Regions from separate parts of the Homo sapiens genome. Here regions 2, 3 and 4 are each linked to region 1. Evidence: promoter capture Hi-C in 16 types of primary human blood cells and fetal thymus (Javierre and others, 2016). All regions are on one chromosome and are shown on one strand. Each heading gives the region's core, a stretch centred on a gene start or on the middle of the fragment in contact. The rest is flanking DNA. Distances are from core to core; before and after follow the strand shown.

Region 1 (3,380 bases), core at 64-2,563:
TTTAAGACCAATCATGTGTTAAATTCTAGAGTCTTTTATTTTCTTTCTTAATCTCATCACTAACAAACACGTGAATTTCTAAACAAATGAATAAACAAGTAATTGTCTGATGGATGTGAGAAATGTCCTCCTTCCCCATATCCCCCTCTTTTAACAACTTGACTCTCTAATTTTTCACAAGACAAAGTATCATTCACTACTCTCTCTGTTCTGTGTTCCCTGTGGAGCAGTGCCTGGACCTTGGCTCTTTCCTTTCCTTGTAGACAAAGCAGCCTGTGGCTTCTTATCATGCTGATTACCCAAATTCACTGCTGTCTTTCCTCCACACCCTCTTCTATTTCCAATATATGAATGCATATTTATAGCATTAATGAAATCAAGCATACGAGGGCACTGAAAGGAAAGGAGATGAGTATCGAAACCCACACTGCAAGTATCAACAGGCAAAAATTAAGAGAACATTTCATCAATTTGAGGCACAAATAAATGTGACCATTCTGCATTTTCAATTTATTTTTTAATGTTGATTCTTGGCCCATGAAAGTACCAATTACAGTTTATACAGAACAGTAATCATCAGCTTCTCATAACAGAAACTCAAAGTTCATGTATTGTTACATACTTTCTTTTTTCTTTTTGCATACAAGTAGAAGCAGCAAGATCTCCAATTTCATTGTGGGGTTTCAGATTCCACAGTGTCTTTTACATTTTATCAATTTCTAAATTCTAACTCTTCTTGATTTTATCTTGTTTAGATGTTACAAATTTTTCTGCCTCAATTTACTCTATATTTATGCCCAAATTCCAAAGCCCATTTTTATTGCCTTTGTCTCTCTCTTTTAAGGTTTTTTTTAGTTTCATTTTATTTTTAATTGACGCATAATAATTGTATATATTTTTGGGGTACAATGTGACGTTTCAATACATGTATACATTGTGTGATGATCAAATCAGGATAATTAGCCCATCTATTACCTCAAAACTTTACTATTTCTTTGTGATGAGAATATTCAAAATTCTCTCTTCTAGCTATTTTGAAATATGCATTATTGTTAACTATACACACCCTACTGCAGAATAGAATACCAGAACTGGTTCTTCCTAGCTATTGTAACTTCATACCTTTTAACTAACGTCTCGCCATGCTCCCCTTCTTAAGATTCTGATTGAAGGGAAGGATGCTAAACTTTCCACGAAAGTGCCTCGCCTAATTCGTGCTGAAGGGAAACTGAAACCTAAGTGCTTCTGAGAGGAGAAAGGAAACCGAAACTCCCGCCGGATGCATAAAAGACTGGCTGCGGTGGCTCAGAGCGCCGAGTCCTAGGCCAGGTCTGGGGTAACCTGGAACTTCCACCTGGGCTCTGCGCTAGGTCTCTGTTTCACTCCCTCCCCGCGGGGCGCGCAGCTCGCGGGTCTTTGGACACCACCGGTCCTGAGTCCGCGGTGAGGAGCCGGGGATGTCCCTTGGGAAGAGCCTGGGGCGGAGCTGTCTAGCGGGAGTTCTAGGTCTTCTTCAACGGACCGGACAGGGAGGTGGCCCAGGAGTGCTGGGCTCGGGGCGCGGGAATCTGGGGAACCTCCTGGGATCGCAAGGCCGTGGCGCACGGGCCCCCTGCTGGCCCGGAAGGCCGGGCGTGGGGAGGGGCGGAGGAAAGGGACAACCGCGAAAGGCCTGAAGTCTGAGACAGAGAGGAGTGCTTAGTTAGGCATTTAAGGAGTCCCCGTCAAAGGTGGGAGCTGGGTAATGGAGGTTGAGGAGAAATTAAGGGACATCATATCTAAGCACAGCCAGTAAAACCTGTACATTGACAGCAGCAAGAAGCTTCCACCTTCAATCCCTGCTCCAGACTTGTAGAATCAGAATCTGCGTTTATTAATAAGATTCCCCCAGGTAATTTCTGTGCACCCTTAAATTTCAGTGGCTTAAGACAATAGAAATTTATTTCCTACTCCAGTAACTTAATTTATTCCTGGTCAAGGGGCAGGTATAGTGGCTTAAAACATTACAAGTTTATTATTTTACAATTGCTGTGGATCAGAAGCCCAGGCATGGGTAAAGTGAGTTCTCTGTTCAGCATCTCATCGAGCTGAAATCAAGGTGTCAGAGCTGTGGCCTCATGGGACACCATGGATGCTCATTCAGGTTGTTGGAAGAATTCAGTTTCTTGCAGCTAAAGGACTGAGGTTACCTGCTTTCTTGCTGGCTGTTGGCTGGGGGTTCCCATGTCTTTAGATTTCACCCTGAGATCTTAGCTACAGTGGCCTTCTCACAACAAGGTGGCTTATACCGTTAAAGAAGGTATAGGGTACCTTTAAAGAAGGTATAAGCCTCTTTGGGGGAATCTCCCGAGTCTACTATGATGAAGTCTTACATAATATAACCGAATCATTAAAGAGACTATGCCATTAAATTCACAGGTCCTGTCCACACTCAAGGGGAGAGGGTTATACCGGGTACTGGAAGCCATTTTAACCCACCAGCTCTTCTCCAGGCAGGGTTTCAGGAGCTTGATGCCTTTCATCAAGTAGCTCCACCATTCTGTTCCAATACAGAATCCATGATTTCCTTTCCCTTCCCTTGCCCCCATTTTTTTCCTCTTTACCTCCCCTTTGCGCCTTTCCTCTTCCCTCCTTTTTTCTCTTTTCCATTTCTCTTCCTCCCTTCTTCTTTTCTTCTTCCTTTTTAAGATTGTTTGAATCAGAATATGGTTCTGACACTACTGTGATTGGAGGATAAGCCTTATAAGGTTCTTGCAATTTCTTTCATCCCCTTTTAATTTATTCGTTTGTAAGATTTGTGGTCTTATGATTGTTTGTTTTTGTATGTGTGTGTCCTGTTGGGTGTGTGTTTATGTGTGTGTGTGTGTATGTGTCCTAATCCCTGTGGTGTCATTTAACATATTTTGCTGGCCTCTAAATTTCTTGTAAATTAATCATTACTACTAGCGTTTTGATCAGATTCAGGTTTTCTTTTTTTTCTTCTTCTTCTTTTTTTTTTTTTTTTTTTGAGACGGAGTCTTGCTCTTTTGCCCAGGCTGGAATGCAGTGGCTTGATCTCAGTTCACTGCAACCTCTGCCTCCCAGGTTCAAGCGATTCTTCTACCTCAGCCTCCCAAGTAGCTGGGATTACAGGTGACTGTCACCATGCCCAGCTAATGTTTGCATTTTTAGTAGAGATGGGGTTTCACCATGTTGGCCAGTCTGGTCTCGAACTCCCGACCTCAGGTGATCTGCCCGCCTTGGCCTCCCAAGTTTTGGGTTTCTTTTTTTTTTGGCTGGGAGAACTACAATACTTCACTGATGGTGTGGACACTTGCCTCTATTTTTGTTGTGCTATCGTTTAAAAATACCAAGATCTGTTAATTCATTAGGAGTTGTAA
Region 2 (3,449 bases), core at 742-3,241, 5.2 Mb after region 1:
CCCAGCTAAGTTTTTGTATTTTTAGAAGAGATGGGTTTTCGTCATGTTGGCCAGGCTGGTCTCAAACTCCCGGCCTCAGGTGATCTGCCTACCTCAGCCTCCCAAAATGCTGGAATTACAGGCGTGAGGCCCTGCGACTGGCCAACTTCTCCGTTTTTATTGGTAATACCAACTTCTTTCTAATTTCCTTGACCAGAAATTTTAGAGTACTTTTATTCTTCCCCTGATGCTGGGGATGTCCTTTACTCTATTTCATTGACTGTAAGCCTAGTTCAGACTTTTATCACCTAATTCCTGGAAAAATGCAACAAAGTGGCTGGCTGGGGAATAATTCTGGCTCAAACGTCTTCCCTTCTCAAATCTGTACTGCATGTCTTTGCAAGATCATTGTTAATTAAATATTTTATTCGTGAGTTCATGCATTGTTCCATTTTCCAAGTATTTTTGCACACTGAATGTATGACATGCCACTCCCTTATATAAAGCCTTACTTAGTGCTCACATGAACTAAATGAGATAGTATTTTTATCTCCATTTTACAGATAAGGAAATTAGGATTTAGATTAACTGCCCAAAGTCAGTAACACCAAACACAAAATGGTAGAGCTGAGGCCTGAACACAGGTCTTTTTAGTTGAAAACTCTGAGCTCTGCTTAATCATTGTGCTAGTAAGTTCGTATCCCAAGTTTAAAGTCCTTCTTCACTTTGGAGGATTTCCATGAAATAGCCTACCAATCCTACTTCCCATTTCTGCTGCACTTGGATTTTCTATTTCATATTTCAAATATTTTTCTAGTTATCTCCTGTGCATTGCCCTTCTCTACTTCAAGTAGATTGTAAGCTTCTTAAAACCTTACTCTTATTACACTTGCCTTGCATTTCTATGAAGATCTACTGTTGTAGATGACACACTAAATTCTCAGTGAATAATTTATAAAATCTTTAGCACAGTCCTTGGCACATATGCATGTTTAACAAATGGTATCAATGATTATTATTACTACACAGGGACTGATGCCTCAAACTGAAGACCTAATAGGAAACCAGAAAATTCTGATCTCTTCCTCAGTCCTAAGAACTCTGCTTGCTTTCTCCACAATTTAGACTAGTGGTTTCCAACAATAAGTGAGTACATTTCAGTCTCATAGTCTCATCTCTCTACTACGAAACAGTGCTAAGTATGATATAGACATCACCATAACATGAACAACACAGCAAAATTTTGTCCATTACTGCTCTCTTTGAGGGTACTTTGGAGAAAGGAAAATGGAATAGTTGTAGTTACATTTTTGAAAAAATGGTTAATACCCTATCTATCGACAGATGGATCTATTGATGGATAAACTTCATTTAACTTTCATGAAGTTACTAGCGTCTTGTCAAGACTTCCTGGCTCAAGTTTCTGATGTACAGAACTTAGCATTCTTCAGGCACCCCCCTGTTGTATAATCCCTGCTTCATTTTGGCGCTTCAAGCAGAATTGGTTCACATGCAGCAATAGGAAAATCCGACATTCAGGCCTTGAATGGTTCACATGACGCAGTGAAAACGGTCGATTTAGGGCCTCCCTAGTCCTGATTATTTTTTTTTGAGACGGAGTCTCGCTTTCTCGCCAGGCTGGAGTGCAGTGGCGCGGTCTCGGCTCACTCCAACTTCCGCCTGCTGGGTTCAAGCGATTCTCCTGCCTCAGCCTCCCAAGTAGTGGGAATTACAGGCACGCGCCACCATGCCCAGCTAATTTTTGTATTTTTAGTAGAGATGGGGTTTCACCATGTTGGGCAGGCTGGTCTGTGAACTCCTGACCTTGTGATCCGCCCACCTCGGTCTCCCAAAGTGCTGGGATTACGAGCGTGAGCCACGGCGCCCGACCCCCTAATCCTGATTTTCGAAGATATGACGCATGTATCCTGCCCCCGCGAGCGCCGTCGCGCCGTCGCGCCACATACGTCACACGCTCTTCGGAAAGCGTTGCTGCGTAAATGGCGGGGGCGTGTCTTTTGGCTCCTCCGCGTGTAGTTACCTGAGAAACGCGGGAAGTTGGGCCCAGGCAGTGTTGCTGCGGTTGCCTAAGTTGTTTTTCTATTTCTGGAGAGAGCCGTGAGCTTGTCCAGGGGCCCCAATCCTGAGGCCGACCCGGTTTCTGGCGCGGTGCGATGGAGGTAGTGGAGGCCGCCGCCGCTCAGCTGGAAACTCTGAAATTCAATGGCACCGACTTTGGAGTTGGGGAAGGTCCGGCGGCTCCGTCTCCGGGCTCTGCCCCTGTGCCAGGGACACAGCCGCCGCTACAGTCGTTTGAGGGGTCCCCGGACGCTGGGCAGACCGTGGAGGTTAAGCCTGCCGGGGAGCAGCCTCTGCAGCCCGTTCTGAACGCCGTCGCGGCCGGGACCCCGGCGCCGCAGCCACAGCCACCGGCTGAATCGCCGGCCTGCGGAGACTGCGTCACCTCCCCAGGAGCCGCAGAGCCTGCGCGGGCGCCGGACTCCTTGGAGACCTCGGACTCGGATTCGGACTCGGACAGGTCGGGTGCCTAAGGGACCCGGAGCTGTGGGGAGAGGTCTTGTATGACGGGCGGGGGTGGCTGGGGCCTAGGAGCCTAGAGGTTGCTTGTGTGGGCCCTGGAGGGTGGGCAGGTCGTTGGTGCTCCGGGCTCACGTGTTGAAGTATTGGCTCCGACTGCCCCTTATTCGCTGCCTCTCAAAGCAGGTCGCGTTGTGAATCTGAGCTTAGTACTGACTTATTTCCTAAATTTGGTGGCCTGAAGGGTTCTATGTATAGATCGTATCATTTTTTGTTAGACTTTAGAAAACCCGAGGATCTTAGGTTATTTCCGTAACTACTCAGTTTAGGCTGTACTTTTGTGGTTATAGTTGAGTTTTGTGTCAGATCTGATTTTTTTTTATCATCACATCTAGGCTTTGTTTTTTGAACCACATACATTGGGGATCAGGAAAAGTATTATTTTTTGTGTTTCAAAGCTGGCTCTTGATGATTACGTTAATTTATAGAATCCTTGCAGGGAACACGTGTTTATGAAAGTAGCCAAACAGTGTTATTTAGTAGTATCTTATGCTTCTTACGTTTTGTGAGAGCCTTTCCCCCTTGCCCCCACACCTGTCTTTTAAATATGAAATCTCTGGGCTGGAGAGGACTCCAGCATGTGGGATGTTACTAAACCACACTGAACATTGTCTACAAATAGTTGAGTGTGTTGAGTGGGGTACTGAACAGGTTAACAAGATAGACACGTGTTGAGGAGGTGAGAAGTTTAGTTTTCAGGGAAGTCATCAGCGGAGAGTGGAAGTGAAGAAGGCTGAAGGATTTGAGTAGAAGGAGAGGGTATGAAATGTACTGGGAGGGGGAAGTAACAACTGTAAACAAGGTTGGATTTCTTGGCAGTACTAAGATTGCAGTATAATCATCTTGTGGGATTTCAGAGCTCATTTTACTAG
Region 3 (3,404 bases), core at 856-3,355, 7.9 Mb before region 1:
GAGGATGAGCACCCGTGACACAGCCTTAGGAGGTCCTGACATGTGCCCAAGGTGGTCAGGGCAGTTTGGTTTTATACATTTTAGGGAGACATGAGACTTCAGTCGACATGTGGAAGATGAACATTGATTTGGTCTGGAAAAGGTGGGACAACTAGAAGCAAAGGCAGGACAACTCAAGCAGGGAGGGGGCTTCCAGGTCATAGGTAGATGGGAGACAAATGGTTGCATTCTGTTGAGTTTCTGATGAGCCTTTCCAGAGTAGGCAATCAGGTATGCATTTAGCTCAGTGAGCTAAGCGGTGACTTTGAATAGAATAGGAGGCAGGTTTGCCCTAAGCAGTTCCCACTTTGACTTTTCCCTTTAGCTTAGTGATTTGGGGGAGGTGGGGGGGGTCCCAAGATTTAATTTCCTTTCACAGTAGAAATGGCTATTCAAAGCTTTCATCTTAAAAATCAGCTTAAAATACCACCTTCTAAGATCCAAATTAATGGTCATCTCTTTTGAGAGGACTTCTTACACTCTCCCAGGCCAAAGTATTTGCTTCCTTTCTGGTGCTAACATATTTTTACCATGGCAGAGCTTTTCAGTGTATGTAATCTTTTCACTGATATTTCTATCTCTGAATCTCTTATAAATGATCTGCCGCACAGAGCTGTCCAATCGAAATTCCTGTAGTGATGGAACAGTGCTGTGTCTGTCCTACCCAACATGGCAGCCACTAGCTACATATGGCTATTGAGCAGGTAAAATGTAGCCAGTGGAACTGAGTTTATTTAAATTTAAGTTTAAATAGCCACATGTGGCTAGTGGCTACCATATTGGATGGTAAAGATCTAGCACATACTCCAGGATAGTTCCTCAGAAAAGGTTTACAGAATGAATGAATCATTCATTAAAACTTTTTTAGCCTAACAGAAAACACTTACATAGCTTCAGTTTTGGTTTTCTTTTTTAACCACATACAGAATACACTGGTTTACTTTATTAATAAGCATGTATATGAATAAACATTAAAAATATTACATAGTATCATTATCAAGATCTATCCCATATTTTACCATGTGTATGTATCCACAGGGCCTGTCACCTGGCTCTCTGCAGCCTCAAGTTCCTGAGCTCAAGCAATCCTCCCACCTCAGCATCTGGAGTACTTGAGAGTACAGGTGTGCACCACCACACCCAGCTATTTTGTTTGTTTGTTTGTTTTGTAGCGAAAGTCTCTCCACCTTGTGTTGCCCAGGCTGGTCTTGAACTCCTGAGCTCAAACGATCCTCCCGCCTCCACCACCCAAAGTGCTGGGATTACAGGCATGACCCACTGTGCCCTGCCAAGCAAAAAAAAACAAAAAACAAAAAACAAAAAACAAAAAACTGTGGCTGTAAAAATTTTTAATGGATTTTAATAATTAAGCTTACATATTTATAATTGCCTATGCCAACTTTGCAGTTGTTTTCATTGTGTTCAGATAGATCCCAAGTGACTAGATGAATGCGTGGCACATAATATGGACTCAATACATATTTGTTGAATTAATGAAGGAATTATGCCTACTAGGAGATTTTAATTAAGTGTGAAAATCTAACCTACACATCGTTTTCAAATATTAATGTTTACAAATACTTAATGCAATAATTAAGGAAATAGTTATGTTAAATTTTGTGGACATTCATTTCCATTTCAAAGATTTTTTTCCCCCATCTCTTCCAATTCCCAAACAAAAACTGTCCTTGGCCTCTGGAGTCTTCTCACACCACTCCTCAAACTAGACGACTGAAAATAGGCCTTTGGCTGGGCAGAAACCAACAATATTTAAAATACAAAACTTATGAACGATGACATAAGAAAAAAAAAGCTCTAAATAGGTTAACAGTGAGGCCAACTAAATCTGAGACTGAAAGCGCTCCCCAGACCGCAGCCACACCACTGGGACCCCAGCTTTGCCTCCCTCGATACCCGGCCCCGCGGTCCAAAATCTGAGTAAAGCGGAAGTACGGGCGGCTGCTGCGGCGCTTGCGCAGGCGCTGAGGTCTCGCCCCATAAGACTCCGCCCCGCCCCACGAGACCGCGCCGCCAGCAATAAGGCCCAGCCCCGCCTTCTGCTGTTGCCGCAGCAACCCAGAAAGCGTCATGGCTGCCGCCGGCCAGGAAAAAGGGTATTTGACACAGACTGCGGCAGCCCTAGACAAGTCACCGTCACTTTCGCCACAGCTAGCAGCTCCCATCCGAGGGAGGCCTAAGAAGTGTCTGGTCTATCCGCATGCGCCGAAGAGCTCCCGCTTGTCTCGTTCCGTTCTGCGTTGGCTTCAGGGTCTGGATCTCAGCTTCTTCCCCAGGAACATCAACAGGTGCTTGAGTAAGCCAGTCCTAGGCCCCCCCGGTGGGCGCCCCGCCTGCTTTCCGCCGCCTGCCAGGCCTCAGATTGCCTACCCTGGCCTGGCTTATGTTTCAAATCAAGACCCCCCCACCCACGTACACACACGAAAACACTATTAGGGAACAAGGCTTTAACAAAATACCACGATACATCTTGTTTATTCAATTAATCAACCAATCATTAAATTGTGGACAATATAGAATGCTTTGGTGACTACAAAAATATTAAAATAGTCAAAGCTTTTTCTTTAGTGATATTGGGCATTAATACTGGTAAGGACGGCCGGGCACAGTTGCTCATGCCTGTAATCCCAGCATTTTGGGAGCCGAGGCAGGCGGATCACCTGAGGTCAGGAGTTGAGTAACAGCCTGACCAACACGGTGAAACCCCGTCTCTACTAAAAAATACAAAAAATTAGCCCAGTGTGGTGGCGGGTGCCTGTAATCCCAGCTACTGGGGAGGCTGCAGGCAGGAGAATGCTTGAACCCGGGAGGCGGAGGTTGCTGTGAGTCGAGATTATGCCGCTGCACTCCAGCCTAGGTGGCAGGGTAAGACTCTGTCTCAAAAAAAAAAAAAAAAAAAAAAAAAAAAAATACTGGTAAGGATCAGTTTACCCTTTGTCGGAGATGGCATCTAGTTTGAGAGTTACCAACAAGTTTTTAAAGTTGCTGCTTAATTGTAGGCACTTTGTATGTAACTGGCAGCTAATATTTGCTCTGGGAATGCAAACTAAATTCTATAAAAAGGCAATGAATCTTTTGCAGAACTCTGGTTTAAAGTAGTCTCTCCTTATCAGAGAGGCATAGGTTCCAAGATCCCCAGTGGATGGCAACTGTGGATACTACAGAACCCTCTGTCAGAACACATTTCTGTTTATGTCTTCCATCCACAAATTTAATGCCTTTTTAAAAATCTTAACTAAGCACTTATCACACACTGTGGCTGAAAGTTTTTCAGTTTGAGGTGTGATGCCGAAACTATCAAGAATTTCTTTTTCTTCATATTTCAGGAATATGATTCATTCCTACCA
Region 4 (3,358 bases), core at 859-3,358, 5.1 Mb before region 1:
ACAGTAAAATGTGTCTATGTATTAGTAAAACACATATGCCACAGTGAGTTCTTAAAAATAAAGACAGCCAAGATGGGCCATTGTTAAGATAATGGAATATTTATACGTTTAAATCCTATACGCTAAAACATAAGATGTCTGGAATACTGTTAAAAGGATGGTGGATGGGGAAGGAGGGGTTGGTTCCATCTGGGGAAGGGGGTAAGGGAGGGAGGGAGAGGAGAATGAGAAATTCCAACCCTCTGGGTTTTGTCATCAAATTGCAGTGAGGGGCTGGGCGCGGTGGTTCACGCCTGTAATCCCAGCACTTTGGGAGGCCAAGGCGGGTGGATCACTTGAGCTCAGGAGTTCCACACAAGCCTGGCCAACATAGTGAAATCCCGTCTCTACTAAAAATACAAAAAATTAGGCGGGCATGGTGGCAGTAGCCTGTAATCCCAGCTACTCAGGAGGCTATGGCAGGAGAATCACTTGAACCTGGTGGTTGGAGGTTGCAGTGAGCCGAGATCGCGCCACTGCACTCCAGCCTGGGCAACAGAGTGAGACTTTGTCTTAAATAAATAAACAAACAGATAGCAGTAAGGATGACCTGAATTAGTTCATGTTGAATTTTTAACTGATGAGGGGAAAGATGATGTTGCTCACAGTTTTGCTACTTGACAGTACTTTCTCTACTTAAAAGAACAGCATATTTTAGTAATATAATGTATGCTTTCCAGTCTTTCTAACTGAATACCCAAATTATAGTCCAGATACAAAACCATTCGTTTTCACAAATGAGCCATCGACTTCAAAACTATATTTAAATTTCAGTTATACATTTTTCTGAATATTAAATCAATGTATTTATCTATAACACATTTTTCCAAAACAATCTGAAATTATGCAAGTTCACCTGAAGAGTTTCTCATGGATAACACTGAAAACTGTTTAAACGGGCAAAAAGTGTCACAAATAAACTTTTCAAAAACTTTAATTACATATACTCCTGCGAGCTGTAGACTAGCATTTGAAACAAACACGGACTGAGCTAACAGGCTTTTACATTTACTTCTAAGCCAAGCGCAAGATAAAAATATGCAGGACTTGTGGTAGGTTCTCGATACCATGTTATTCATTTACCGCTAGCCAGATCTCCCAAAAGTAGCAACGGCTGTTTCTAAAAACCTCATAGATGGTCAAACGAAAAGACGTGCAAAAAATCCTGATGGCTGCCAAGGGGATGGCAAAACCGCAGAGGCTACGTGCTCCCCACCATCGGAGTAGCTGCCCTCGGAGCTGACAGCGCAAACGCCGTTTACAACCCCGGCTCACTGCCAGGCGGCGGGTGAGCTCGGCTTCCCTCTCACTCCGCTCCGGAGGAGACGGAACACAGAAAAGAACAGGATCTTCCTTGTTCGTGAAGGTCCTCCGCTTTCTCCTAGACGACGGGATTTAGTACCGCCTGGGGCCAAACACCAGCTTGGGCAGCAAAACAAAGGCGCCTCCATTCCAGAAGAGCTGCCGGGCTGCAAGAAAACTACTCTGGGCCCTCAGTGCGCCGGTCCCCTTTGTTTCGTGTCCCGGTCGCAGAGGAGAAGGAAGAGGGAAGACTGCGCGGGAGAGACGCAGGCAGCGGGAGGTTGGGGGCCAGGGTGGGAAAGAAGAGGGGAACGACAGCCTGTGTGTGGTGTGTGTGTTGGGGTGGCGGTAGGAGTTGCAGCGACTTTGTTATTTGCTTCCAAACACAGACTCCACGAGACCGCACTGCAGCCAGTGCGGTTGTCTGGGGGACCCCGCCGACAACCCGTGCCTTTGCCCGGCTCCTGGGGCCCCACCGAGGGGCGGGAGGGCAGGGCGGTCCCGCGGTTTACTTACGCTCTTATCCAGCTCGATCTTCACCTTCTTCTGGGAGATGCTCTTCTGGATCCTCTTGCTGAAGCTGGCGTTGCCTGCCGCCCGGCCGCACCGCTCACCATCCTCCCGCAGGCAGCACAGTTGCCCGGGGCCCGGCCCGGCCGCCCCCGGGGGCCCAGCCGCTGAGACCGCCCCCGCGCCCGGCACCTCAGCCCCGGTGCCCGCGCCGGTCCCGTTCCCCGCCGAGGCGGCGGCGGCCGCGGCAGCGACCACTGCGGCCACTGCGGCGGCCGCATCCCCGCCGCGGCTCATCTCGTCAGGCGTGAAGCCGTTCATGTCTCCGAGCTCCCGAGGCCGGCGCTGACAGAAATCCCCTCTCTCCTGGCCGCTCCGCCTCTCTCCGCTCCGGCAGCGGCAATTCACTCTGCACACCAAGTTAGACAGCGGCACGGCCAAACACCAACTGTCCCGGGCCTGCTGGTCTCTGCTGGCACCGAAACAGTGGACAGTGCTGAGGGCCGGGACGCAGACTCGAGCGTCTCCTGGAGCGGGGACCCCGCTCACTGTCACATGGGGACTTCAGCAGTTGGACCGCTACGCCTCCGCCTCCCTCCGGCCCCGGGACCTGCGCAAGCGCGACGCGCCCCCTCCCGTCCCGCCCCTTTCTTTCTGCCGCGCGGCCCCATGGGAATTGTAGTTCTCTGCTGCAGAGTCAACCTGAGCTCCGCCCTGACCCCGCGCCATGAGGGACGGAGGAACTACTAATCCTAGCATGCATAGCGCGGCCACGGACCCACTTTTTTTTTTTTTTTTTTTTTTCAGTACCGGGAAAACAGGAGCGTGTGATTGGGGTTTACAGTGTTTTCTCTCGCTCTCTCTGTTTCTAGGGAATTCGGGCTGTGTTTAGCTGCTGGAATATCGTAGAATTGGTTTTCAGAGAAGTTCCTCGACTCCTGAGGCGAAACATAAAGGGATGGGAGTGGTGTGGGAAGTGATCGTGTGGGGAAAAAAAAGTTTCGAGCCCGTTTCGCATTTGTGGAGACAGAGTTTTTGGTGTGACCACTCTTTTGTGGGAAACCCAAACCAAGGAGAACTCAGGAGAATTGGCGCTCTTCGGTCCTGGAGGTTCCGCAGCTAACATCCCGGCTTGACCAACTATCGAGGCCGCAAATTAATAGGGCACCTCCTGGGAGGAAAACGCCCATCCTGACTTCTCAACTGTGACAGGTCCCCCTCACAAACGCCTTGCGGGGGGGTGGGGGGGCGTTTCTAAACACTTGCATGTTCTTACAAGGGAAATGTTTTTATTCTTGGGCGCACCAAGTTGGCCGCCTCCTGAGGTGGAGTACGGACCAGTTGACAACAGGGCTCCTTTTCACCTCCACGCCCAACCTTTTCCATTTCTCCTCAAACGGTTTTGGAGAAGGGCGGAGTCATATCATTTTAAAGGAAACTTGGAACCTCACCAATACAAACGCTGGTCGAATGTTCCCAGAAACTTCCCTGCATTAGCTCTACCGGG

The links. The method cuts DNA at HindIII sites, captures the fragments that hold promoters and counts their contacts. A CHiCAGO score of 5 or more calls a contact.
Region 2: the fragment with the promoter of NAF1 here is called in contact with the fragment with the promoter of DDX60 in region 1 in 7 of 17 cell types (activated CD4 T cells, naive CD8 T cells, total CD4 T cells and 4 more); the score reaches 16.3 in activated CD4 T cells.
Region 3: the fragment with the promoter of SPATA4 here is called in contact with the fragment with the promoter of DDX60 in region 1 in 2 of 17 cell types (total CD4 T cells and M1 macrophages); the score reaches 6.9 in total CD4 T cells.
Region 4: a contact is called between a fragment that was not itself captured here and the fragment with the promoter of DDX60 in region 1, in 1 of 17 cell types (activated CD4 T cells). The highest score is 5.6, in activated CD4 T cells.

The regions. Positions count from the first base shown.
Region 1 is chr4:168,316,685-168,320,064 of GRCh38, reverse strand. It overlaps DDX60 (DExD/H-box helicase 60), which reads left to right and starts at 1,313. Exons shown (of 38, transcript NM_017631.6): 1 at 1,313-1,443. RefSeq lists an enhancer at 1,050-1,379. The HindIII fragment of the contact is 2,588 bases long and covers 1-1,824 here.
Region 2 is chr4:163,165,432-163,168,880 of GRCh38, reverse strand. NAF1 (nuclear assembly factor 1 ribonucleoprotein) reads left to right here and starts at 1,991. Exons shown (of 8, transcript NM_138386.3): 1 at 1,991-2,518. The coding sequence starts at 2,154. RefSeq lists enhancers at 2,038-2,237, 2,258-2,377, 2,408-2,487, 1,979-2,846. The HindIII fragment of the contact is 3,845 bases long and covers 844-3,449 here.
Region 3 is chr4:176,194,286-176,197,689 of GRCh38, reverse strand. SPATA4 (spermatogenesis associated 4) reads left to right here and starts at 2,105. Exons shown (of 6, transcript NM_144644.4): 1 at 2,105-2,345. The coding sequence starts at 2,128. The HindIII fragment of the contact is 1,203 bases long and covers 1,413-2,615 here.
Region 4 is chr4:173,369,997-173,373,354 of GRCh38, reverse strand. SAP30 (Sin3A associated protein 30) reads right to left here and starts at 2,401. Exons shown (of 4, transcript NM_003864.4): 1 at 1,858-2,401. The coding sequence starts at 2,172. It overlaps SAP30-DT (SAP30 divergent transcript), which reads left to right and starts at 2,657. Exons shown (of 4, transcript NR_183973.1): 1 at 2,657-3,063. RefSeq lists enhancers at 1,291-1,590, 1,294-1,857, 2,941-3,180 and silencers at 1,711-2,090, 2,371-2,540. The HindIII fragment of the contact is 6,906 bases long and covers 1-3,358 here.